Regions from separate parts of the Homo sapiens genome. Here all the other regions are linked to region 1. Evidence: promoter capture Hi-C in human tissues and cell types (Jung and others, 2019). All regions are on one chromosome and are shown on one strand. The core of a region is centred on a gene start or on the middle of the fragment in contact, and the rest is flanking DNA. Distances in the headings are between cores, read along the strand shown.

Region 1 (3,628 bases), core at 761-3,260:
GAATTACACAGGATTACAAATTGTGAGGAATTGTGACAGACTTTATGGGAGATGCATGGAAGTGGGTGGTTAGGGAAGGTCTCTCTGGGGAGGTGACACTTATGTTAAAACCTAGAGAATAAGAAGCCAGCCATGAAATAAGGCAAAGATAGCTGGCTTTCGGTGACTGGGTGGATGGTGGTACTGCTCAGCAGAGTGGGGACTGGGAGAAGAGGGAGGATTGAAAATTCTGCTTTATGGCCGGGTGCGGTGACTCATGCATGTAATCCCAGGACTTTGGGAGGGCTGAGGCGGGAGGATCACCTGAGGTCGGGAGTTCGAGACCAGCCTGACCAACATGGAGAAACCCCTTCTCTACTAAAAATACAAAATTAGCCAGGCGTGGTGGCGCATGCCTGTAATAATCCCAGCTACCTGGGAGACTGAGGCAGGAGAATCGCTTGAACCTGGGAGGCGGAGGTTGCAGTGAGCCAAGATCACACCATTGCACTCCAGCCTGGGCAACAAGAGCAAAACTCCATGTCAAAAAAAAAAAGAAAAAAAAAAAGAAAATTCTACTTTGACCAGACATGTTAATTTAATTTTTTTAGGCAGAGTCACTCTGTCACCCAGGCTGGGATGCAGTGGCCTAATCTTGGCTCACGGCAACCTCTGCCTCCCCAGTTCAAGCTACTGTCTCGGCCTCCCAAGTAGCTGGAATTACAGGTGTGTGCCACCACACCAGGCTAATTTTTTGTATTTTTAGTAGAGATGGGGTTTTGCCATGTTGGCCAGGTTAGTCTTGAACTCCTGACCTCAAGTGATCCGCCTGCCTCAGCCTCTCAAAGTGCTGGGATTGGCCGGGCGTGGTGGCTCACGCCTGTAATCCCGGAACTTTGGAAGGCCAAGGCAGGCGAATCAGGAGGTCAGGAGATCGAGACCATCCTGGCTAACATGGTGAAACCCCGTCTCTACTAAACACACACACACACACACACACACACACACACACAAAGTGCTGGGATTACAGGCGTGAGCCACCACGCCCATCCAGACATGTTACATTTCAGATCAGTGGTTACCCAAGTGGAGATCAGGAACCTGGAGTGCTGGTGACTTAGTACTGGGAGTCATGGGATACAAATGGCATTTAAAATTAGGAGCCTAGGCAAGATTACCCTGGGCCTGAGTGTAGCTAGGGGCCCAAGGTACTGATCTGACCCAAGGGAAGGGTCTGGCAGAAGAGACGGAAGGGATCAGGTAGGGCTTTGGACCTCTAGGCTTGATGGCCACCTGCTGCTGGGCCTCCGAGGGGCCTGGAGGCGGTGGGGACCGAATATGCAGAGAGAATGAGAAGTGAGCGAGTAGAACGAGAGTGGTACATGGCTTTGAAGGCATCTGCCACGGAGGCGGGAAGGGATGGGGTGGAGGCTCATGAGACTTGAAGCTCTAGGAGGACGTTGAAAAAGACCTGAGCGCTGGCCGGGCGCGAAGCCTCAGGCCTGTAATCCCAGCACTTTGGGAGGCCAAGGCGGGAGGACTGCTTGAGCTCAAGAGCTCCAGACCAGCCTGGGCAACATTGTAAGAGCCTGTCTCTACAAAAAATTAACAAATTAGCCGGGTGTGGTGGTGCGTGCCCGTAGCTACTCGGGAGGCTGAGGTGGGAGAATCGCTTGAGCCTGGGAGGTCGAGGCAGTAGTGAGCTGTGATTGTGCCACTGCACTCCAACCTGGGCGACAGAGCGAGACCCTGTCTCGAAAATAAATAAATAAGACCTGAGAACCCAGTATGGGAATGGCCCTGAGCCGTGGCTAGGGGGGTAGACAAGGCGGTCCAGACAGACCCCTCAAGAAGATGGGGCTTCGAGGCTGAGGGAGCTCGGCCCCGAAAAGACGCCTGCGGGAGATGGCACACCTAGCTAGGACCCCATACTGGGCAGGCGATCCTTCCGAGCATGAGCACCTGGCGCTAGCGAACCACAATTCCCAGCACGCCAGGCGCCCGTTTCCGGGGCGCGCCGCGGAACCCGGAAGTGGTCACGGAACTCGGCTGCGGCTCCATGGTCTGAGTTGTCAGCCGTTGTTTTTTCGTGCTCGCTAGTCGCCGCCGCCGCTCCGCCATGGGGAAGCGACAGCACCAAAAGGACAAAATGTAAGTTGAGCCGCAGTCGGGAGCGGCGCTCCACTCTGCCTCAGTGAACCGCCTGTCCCGCACTGCGCGCCGCTCGCCTTCCCTCTCAGCTACTCCCCAGAGCACAGCCCAAAGGTCACTTCCTCCCGGAAGCTGCCGCCCTGTCTCCAGTCAGGGTAATGACCCTCGGGCCGCCGCGCTCTCCCGGGGCCGCGGCTCCGATGACGTCAGCTGCGGGCTCGAGCGCAGCCCGGTTTTCCTTACTCTGGTTCTGCCCGGACCGTCCCCCGTCTGTTCGCGAGTTTCGCCCTTGAATGAGTAGTCTCTACCTCTTCCGTACTTCACGTCTCGCTGTGTTCTGGTTCATGCCTATCAGCCTGCAAACGTGCTGCAGAGCCTTCTAATTTAAAGCAAACCAGGTCGGGCGCAGTGGCTCACCTGTAATCACAGCACTTTGGGAGGCCGAGGCGGGCGGATCACCTGAGGTCAGGAGTTCAAGACCAGCCTGGCTAATACGGTGAAACCCCGTCTCTACTAAAAATACAAAAATTAGCGGGGCGTGGTGACGGGCGCCTGTAATCCTAGCTATTTGGGAGGCTGAGGCAGGGGAATCGCTTGAACCCGGGAGGCGGAGGTTGCGGTGAGCCGAGATCGTGTCACTGCACTCCAGCCTGGGCGACAGAGCGAGACGCTGTCTCAAAAATAATAAATAAAATTTAAAAATCCACCCGTGCCCCGTGCCCCACGTCCCACGTTCCCCTCCCGCTGCCGCCGTGTTGTTTCTCTTAAGAACAAGTGAGAGACTAGTGGCTTCATGCTGTTTTCTGAGTCTCTTGAAACCACTCAAGTCAGAATTTCGACCCCAGAACTGTTGGGCTTCTCAACAGTATGTCACACCGTTGACCACTCCCTCTTTCTGAAGCCCTCCTTTGGTATCTGGGATTTCACCTGCTCTTTGTTTTCTCTCGACTTCAGCGGCCTCTCTTTTCAGGTTCCCAGCGACTTCTTGTTGCTAAATATAGTATTCAATCCTCAGTCCTCATTTTTTTTTTTTTTTTTTTTTGAGACGCAGTTTCGCTCTTGTTGCCCAAGCTAGAGTGCAATGGTGAGATCTTGGCTCACCGCAACCTCCGCTTCCCGGCTTCAAGAGATTTTCCTGCCTCAGCCTCCCGAGTAGCTGGGATTACAGGCATACGCCACCATGCCCAGCTAATTTTGTATTTTTAGTAGAGAAGGGGTTTCTCCATGTTGGTCAGGCTGGTCTCGAACTCCTGACCTCAGGTGATCCACCTGCCTCGGCCTCCCAAAGTCCTGGGATTACAGGCGTGAGCCACCGCGTCTGGGCAGCCTCAGTCCTCATTTTGTTGGGCTTCTCAACAGTATGTCCCACTGTTGACCACTCCCTCCTTCTGAAGCCCTTCTTTGGTATCTGGGATTTCACATGCTCTTTGTTTTCCATCGACTTCAGCGGTCTTTCTTTTCCCAGTCTCCTTTCTGGACCCTCCTCCCTTCTCTCAGA
Region 2 (3,628 bases), core at 524-3,023, 280 kb after region 1:
CCATTCTCCACAAAAAGAAAGATGAGATCACACTGTAGGAGGGCAGCCCCTGGTCCAAAATGCCCATGTCCTTACAAGAGGAGGAGTCACAGACACACAGCAGGCAGGGTGGGGAGGTGTGAAGGCACAGACACACACATGGGGAGATGCCGTGTGCAACAAGGCCAGCTAGGAGGAATGAGTCTACAAGCCAAGGACCTCCAGGAAGTCAAGGCCAGGCACTAACAGAAAGGCAGACTCTTCCCTGCAGCCTTTGAGAGAGCATGGCGCAGCTGCCACCTTGATCTTGGACTCTGGCCTCCAGCCCTGTGAAAGAATGAGCTTTGGCTGTGTTGAGTGCCCAGTGTGTGGTGCTTTGCCATAGCAGCCACGGGAGTTCCACATGGTGCTGCATAGGGATCCGGGGCTGCAGATCCCCGTGTGGGGCTGGACGTGTAGGGGAGCAGCAGCCACATCCCTTGTCGGCCCTGGTGCCGTGCCCTTACTCCCCGTCCCCTTTGGGGGTGCACAGGCCTACCTGCTGCCCAGAAAGCCCATGGCCAGCTCAGCCAGCTCGCCCTCCACCTCCTCCTGGCTGAGCACCGTCCCTGGGGCCTTCCATGGCAGAGGGTCCTCTGGGTTCAGCAGGGCTGGGAAGTCTTGCAGGAGCGTGTCCAGGAAGCCTGGGGTCTCCTCAGCTCCACTGGCCATTGGGCTGCTCTTCTGTGGGGCTCCAGAGGACATGCCCAAAGCATCCCGGGGGCCTGCAGCTAGGCCAGGGCAAGAGGGTCTCCAGGCTTCACCCTGGGGAGAAATGTCAGAGTCAGCAGAATCAGGGGGCCATGGCACCAGCAATGCAGGTGCCCACCTGCAAGCACCATGTGGCAGGTGCATGGCCTCATGGTTCAGGGCCACTAGAGGGTGGAGGGACAACCCTGGCCACTGTTTTGACATGAGTCCAGGTGGGGACTTGTGGGCATCCAGAGATCCGGTCTCAGGAGATGGTGCCAGGAGCAGCAGCTGGGTGGACATTGTCAAGAAGTGACAGAGGAGGAAGACTGTTCCTGGCAGAGGGTGGCCAGCGTGGCCAGAGACGAGCAGGACAGGGATGCCGAGGCCAGGCACTGAGGTAGGTGAGGGGGTTCAACCTGATCACGGGTCCCGAGCAGCCAGGAGGGCTCTGAGGTGAGGGAGTGAAGCCACCAGGTCTGTGAGCCTGGACGTGGTGACCAGATGGCAGGAGGGACACCTGTTGGGGCTCTAGTGGTGTTCAGGGGAGGAAAGAGAAGGGCCAAGATGCGGGAGGCCGGCCCAGGGCTGTTTTGGAGATAGGCCAGAGTGGGAGCAGGAAGGGATCCCCAGAGGCTGCTGGGGCCACCCAAGGGGTGGCCAGGAGAGAAGCAGAGGTTTAATCTGGGACAGACAGGAGGTGCTGTGGGACACCATCGAGCCTATTCAATGCTCTCTAATAGGAGGAGGGAATTGTGAGCCTAGAATGGCTCAGGCCTGCTAAGCCCTGGCTGGAAGAGGGGCACTGTGGACAGTTCCAGGCGCTGACCCCACTGTGCGGCATGTGGGCTCTTCCTCCCTAAGTCCTTAGGGATGACCAGAGCTGACCAGCCCTGGGAGTTGCCCCTAACACCCCAGGAGCCAGGACAAGCCCCCATTTCACAGATGAGAATCCCAAGGTTTGGAGAGGGTTAGTCCCTCGCCTGAGGTGTCAGAAGGAAGACAGGGCCAAAGAGGGATCGCAAAGCCTGTGCCTTCACTCCCTCACCGGCTTCTCTCTCACTGGAAAGAGGCACATGGTGCCTCACAGCCTCCTCCCAGGGTGGCTCTGGCTCCTCTTCTCTCCTAACTCCGAATCTCCATAGTCGCCTCCCCAGCCTGCCTGCCTTGCCTATACCCAAACAGCTCTCCAGCGCCCCCCCTTCCATGTTCTTTGCGTCGCCCCGGGGATTCACCTCCAGGCCCCACACCTGGGCCTCCCTGCCAGCACCCACTCAGCATGGACCCTTCTCTCTCCTGCCCCCTTCCTCTCGGGTGCCTGACCCCTCCAAACCCTCCCCACAGCGGGGACTCCACCTTGGGCTTTGTCTAACACTCAGGCTGGGAAACTTTATTCAGCGAGTCCTACGCAGTAGTGGATGAGATTGGATCCAGAAAAAAATAAAAAAGAAATCCTACACAGTTACTAAGCCAGGGAGAAAAACTGCATTCTTTTATGGTGACAAACGGACATGAGACTCTGAGGAACACCCCGAGTTCTAGGGTGGAGAATTTGGGGAACAGTTTCACAGCCCATCACCTTCATGAGGACTTCCAGGTTCTGAAAACTGAACGAAGAAGGCAAGGAGAATCTTCTAGAATCATCAGTCTTAGAATAGCCACAGACTCTGCCTACAAACTTTGCTAAAAGGGCGGCTGTGGCAGGGGCCTGAGGTGCAGGATGAAGAGAGTGGGAAGTAAGAGATGCAGGGAGCTCACAGCCCACAAGAGGGCTGTCCTTATCAGGAATTGCTAACTTGGAACAAGCCTTCTGGAAGCCTAAAGATAAAAAACACAAAAGAGAATGGGGTGGGCAGAGGGAAAGGTCCCAGCACCAAGTTAAATGTCTGATCAGTGAGGGATTTGGAATGCAAGGGGTGAAGGGTGGTAAATTAACAAAACACAAAACCCTTCTCTTCTTTTAGAGGCAGAATTGAAAGGTAATTTATTTAAAGTGGACACATACAAATAACGTAGGAATAGGGGTGCTTGCTACTGAAGGTTCTGGGGATAGACTAAATTTATTGCTATGGTTCACATTTACTCACAAGTAGGAGTAAATTTAATGCAACCCAGGTTACAGAAGGCAAGCAGGTAAAAGGATAAAGAACATAAAACAACTGGCAAGGCGCTGTGGCTCAGGTCTATATCTCAGCGCTTGGGGAGGGTGAGGCAGGAGGAGTGCTTGAGGCCAGGAGTTCAAGACCAGCCTGGGCAGTGAGATCGCCACCCCCCCCCCACCCCCCATCTCTACCAAAAAAGAAAAAAAAAGAACATAAAGCAAAAAAGGAAAAATCACTTTGAGAGCAGGAGGGACACTGACATTCAAACGACAAAGGGAAGACTGTGAGCTGGAGAAATGAGCAGAGGCTGGGAGCCCTAGTAGGTCAATGAGGAGGCGGCACGTCCTGCCAGCCATGCCCCAGCAGAGCTGTAAGGCATTCGAAGATGGCGTGAATTTCCCAGCAAGCTTGGCTGCCCTCAAGCAGTGCAAGCGGCCAAGGGCCCCTCTTCTGCCTGGGACTGCCCTGGCCCCTGGAGCTTCTGGGAGAATGTGAACGATGCAGAGCTGCCCCCAGCAACTGCCAGTGCCTGGGGCCTCCTCCCACTCCCTTGCAATTCCAAGTGATCTGGAGGCTCTACTGTCTCACCACAAAATGTGCTCATGTGAATTTATGATTAGGATCCAAGTGAGAGGACAGCATGCTCCCCGCTAGAGCACACAGAGGGCCCCCCTGGAGAAACCCCTGCCCACAGTGTAAAGCCCCACTGTCAAGGGCAGAATTCAAGACCCTTCACTTCCACCCCATTTGCTGGTGACGTCTGCTGGACCTTTTGGGATGCAGGTGCCTCCTTCTTGCCTCCTGACCTTGGGGTACTC
Region 3 (3,628 bases), core at 464-2,963, 260 kb after region 1:
GCAGGAAGTGGGTCCTGTGTTATCTCACTGCCTCAACAAAGTATCTTGTGCAGAGTGGGCACTCAGTGTTTGGAGGCTGAACTGAGTGCAGAGGCAGGAGACTGTTCAGACAGCCGCAGAACAAGGCAGAGCACCACGCACTCCCCCCACGTACTCCTGGAAGCTGCTCTGGGCCGCTGCTGGACCCCCGTTGAAGCTCGCCAAGTTGAGGCCAGTTTCTTGCTCTTGTAACCGACATGATGCTTGTTTTTGTGGGAGAACCTTGGCCTGGATCTGTGATTAATTCTCTAGGGTGGAAGGCTGTGATCAGGATCACAGCAGGAGGGGCCAAGCCTACAGAGCATGGCGGCAGGAAAGGGGAGGTGGGGGGCACTGGATCTGAACTCCTTGGCCCATGCGGGCTGCAGCCAAGAACACAGACACCTGTGTGTGCTTCTCTTGTGCAAGCTCTGATCTCTGTGCTCCACATGCACTGGGACACTCAATCCTTACCCCAAACCTCCAGGGACCCCTGTGTGATGGACTTGGAAGCGGTGGAGCCGGGACCAGGCAAGGCCATCTGTCCATGCTCTGCCACGACGCCATACTGCAGGACTCAGGCAGTGTTTGAACAGAGCCCCCACTGGGCTTTAATGGGGTGCTGAATGCTGAGCCTGTAGGTGTGCAGGCAGCAGGTGGGAGTGGGCCCAGCACGAATCCTGACTTGGCCACATTTCATCTGACTGCATATCCTGGGGAGGAGAGCCCACTAGGGAGCAGGTGCCAAATTCCCCCACGGTGGTGGAGGCAGGGGAGTGGCAGAGACTATCTGTGACTTTGGCGGTGTGCTCTGGGCAAGTGACTGAGCCTCAGTTTTCTCCTCTGTACAATGGGGAGAGGACGTACAGGGGGCCCATACCAGACCGTGAGCCGCAGTGAAAGGCCAAGGAATGTAGCTGCCCCTGACTGTTACAATCATCAAGTCCTGGTGTCTCTATGTGCTTTCCAAACCAGAAGCCACAAAAAGACTACTCAACTACAGAAAAACACAAAGCCTCCATGTGGCAAAAGCCCATAAACAAAAATAAAAGATGCATGGAAAAACATTTGCAAATCATCACAGACAAGGAACCAACCTCCTTCACATATACAAGGAACCTATAAACTGATAAGAAAAACAGGCAAAGGAAAAAAACAGTGTTTGCAGGAAAGGCTGTGTAAATGATCTTCAGCTTTTGAAAACACGCTCAAACTCACTCTGTAACAGAAAAGCAAACTTAACAATTGCCCCAAGACAGGCTTCTTACCTGACAGGAAGAATCCTGCAGCCTGGTGAGACTGTGGGGAAATGGACCTTCTTGGGAATGTAGTGCCAGCCCAGGCTGGCATGGCCTGAGGTGGGAAGCTTGGCAAATCTACCCAGACTGTACGTGCATCAGTTCCAACCTAGCCATCCCACTTCTGGGGATGTGTCCTACAGATATAGGTACACTTGACTCTGAGCAATTAATGCTGCACAAAGTAGGTAGAGATGCATTGTTTTTAGCACCGAAAGACTGAAAAGATCTTCATGCTCACCCACAAGGGACTGCATGATGAATGCAATGTCCGCAGCCCCAAGAAAGGATGGGTGCTCCTATGTGCTGACGTAGAATTATCCACCATGTGCATGGTTAATCAAACATAGCTGGTGGAGAACAGCACGTGGGAAAAGTGGGGTTTGAGGGATAAACAGTCATTCCATGATATCTGAATGCTCGCAATCCAACCTCAGGAGACACATGGATGAGACAGTCTTCTGAGAAGAGGTCTGAGTGGGACTGTCATCCTCATGTCCAGGTGATGACCTGAGTGCCAGGGTCCCAGGCAGCCTCTAGTCAGTACAGCCCCAAGCCAGGTTCCCTCCAGCCTCGGGGCAGCATCACCTCCCTGAGGCCTTCCTCACCCACAGCCTGTGGCCTCCTTGTCCGTGTGTATGATGGGCTCTGGTCTGCACTGGGCTGCACTGACTGCACTGGGATGCCTGTCAGTGCAGAGGGCTCTGCTCTCCCCCGGAGCTCTGGGCTCCATATAGCTGTGACCCACAGAGCTCTCAGGAAGGGCTCACGTGGGACCCCCGGCCACTCAAATCAGGCAGGGAGCCCTCCCTCTTGAAAGGTGCCAGGATTACTACTACCTGAAGTTCCCAGGCTGGGTGGGGTTCCCCTATGGGCCCAGCATGATGGAGGCCAGGAATATCCTGGGCCTGGGCGCAGGGATCCCCTTACCTGCCGTTCTGGTCTGTGTGGCTCCATCAGCTTCACCACCTGTCCCTGCTGTACCAAAATGACCTGGGAATCCCCGAGCCAGGCGACGTGCAGGGTCGCTCCTGCAATGAGCGCACACACACCTGTGGTGCCGCTCTGCAGCCGCTGCAGGGAGAGAGGGCCCATGAGAGTTGAGAGGAGGTAGGGAAGGGCAGAGGATGACACGGGGCAGGATGAAGCTTCCGGGGGTGATGAATACTTCCGTTACTGTGGTGAGGAATCCACAGGTGTATATGTGTATAAGCCAAAACTTGCCAAATTGTGGACTTCAAATATGCACCACTTACTACCTGTCAATTGTATCTCAATAAAGATGTTTATTTATTTATTTATTTATTTATTTAGAGACAGAGTCTTGCTCTGTCATTCAGGCTGGGCTGCAGTGGCACAATCTCGGCTCAGTGCAACCTCCGCCTCCCGGGTTCAAGTGATTCTCCTGCCTCAGCCTCCCAAGTAGCTAAGATTACAGGCGTACAGCACCACGCCTGGCTAATTTTTTGTGTTTTTAGTAGAGACGGGGTTTTGCCATGTTTCTTTCCCAGGCTGGTCTTGAACTCCTGAGCTCAGGCAATCTGCCTGCCTTGGCCTCCCAAAGTGCTAGGATTACAGGCGTGAGTCACTGCGCCTGGCTATTTATTTATTTAGAGGCAAAATCTTGCTCTGTCACCCAGGCTGGAGTGCAGTGGCACAGTCTCAGCTCACTGCAACTTCCATCTCCTGGGCTCAAGTGATTCTCATGCCTCAGCCTCCCAAGTAGCTGGGACTATAGGCGCGTGCCACCATACCTGGCTAATTTTTTTTTTTAATTTTTAGTAGAGGCAGGGTTTCACCATGTTGGCCAGGCTGGTCTCAAACTCCTGACCTCAAGTGATCCACCCACCTCAGCCTCCCAAAGTGCTGGGATTACAGGCATGAGCCACCGCGCCTGGCCAATTTTTGTATTTTTAGTAGAGACGAGGTTTCACCATGTTGGCCAGGCTGGTCTCGAATTCCTAACCTGAAGTGATCCGCCGGCCTCTGCCTCCCAAAGTGCCGGGATTACAGGCGTGAGCCACTGTGCCCAGCCTCAATAAAGCAGTTACGCCTGCTTCAGAGAATCCCTTTTCTACTCTGAGGCTGCCTTGAGCTCAGAGGCCTTTGTCACTTCCTGGGGCTGAGGTGAGAGGCCAGGAGTGGAGGCTTGCCTGCTTTTCACTGGGGTCCTTGCAGCTGCAGAGATTGCATGGTTTTCTATTGAGATGCAAAGCCTGGCTCTGCTAATTTCCATGAAGGTCTGTGCTCAGAGCGTGTGACAAAAGTGCACCTTTCCCCTGGTGTCTTCTCACTGGGGCGGGTCTTTTAAG

Evidence for each region. Contacts are between HindIII fragments. The study calls those that stand out against the background at their distance.
Region 2: a contact is called between a fragment that was not itself captured here and the fragment with the promoter of PPIL2 in region 1, in 1 of the 25 tissues and cell types used here (lymphoblastoid cells).
Region 3: a fragment that was not itself captured here is called in contact with the fragment with the promoter of PPIL2 in region 1 in 2 of the 25 tissues and cell types used here (dorsolateral prefrontal cortex and lymphoblastoid cells).

Annotation. Positions count from the first base shown.
Region 1 is chr22:21,664,002-21,667,629 of GRCh38, forward strand. It overlaps PPIL2 (peptidylprolyl isomerase like 2), which reads left to right and starts at 2,011. Exons shown (of 20, transcript NM_014337.4): 1 at 2,011-2,130. The coding sequence starts at 2,099. RefSeq lists enhancers at 1,943-2,853, 2,088-2,327, 2,398-2,447. The HindIII fragment of the contact is 22,549 bases long and covers 1-3,628 here.
Region 2 is chr22:21,945,326-21,948,953 of GRCh38, forward strand. PPM1F (protein phosphatase, Mg2+/Mn2+ dependent 1F) reads right to left here. Exons shown (of 8, transcript NM_014634.4): 2 at 518-783. The coding sequence starts at 723. Among named protein-coding and RNA genes, the nearest start is that of PPM1F, 5.7 kb to the right of the region's middle. The HindIII fragment of the contact is 4,794 bases long and covers 1-3,628 here.
Region 3 is chr22:21,928,902-21,932,529 of GRCh38, forward strand. PPM1F (protein phosphatase, Mg2+/Mn2+ dependent 1F) reads right to left here. Exons shown (of 8, transcript NM_014634.4): 6 at 2,247-2,390. Among named protein-coding and RNA genes, the nearest start is that of PPM1F-AS1, 7.5 kb to the right of the region's middle. The HindIII fragment of the contact is 5,175 bases long and covers 1-3,628 here.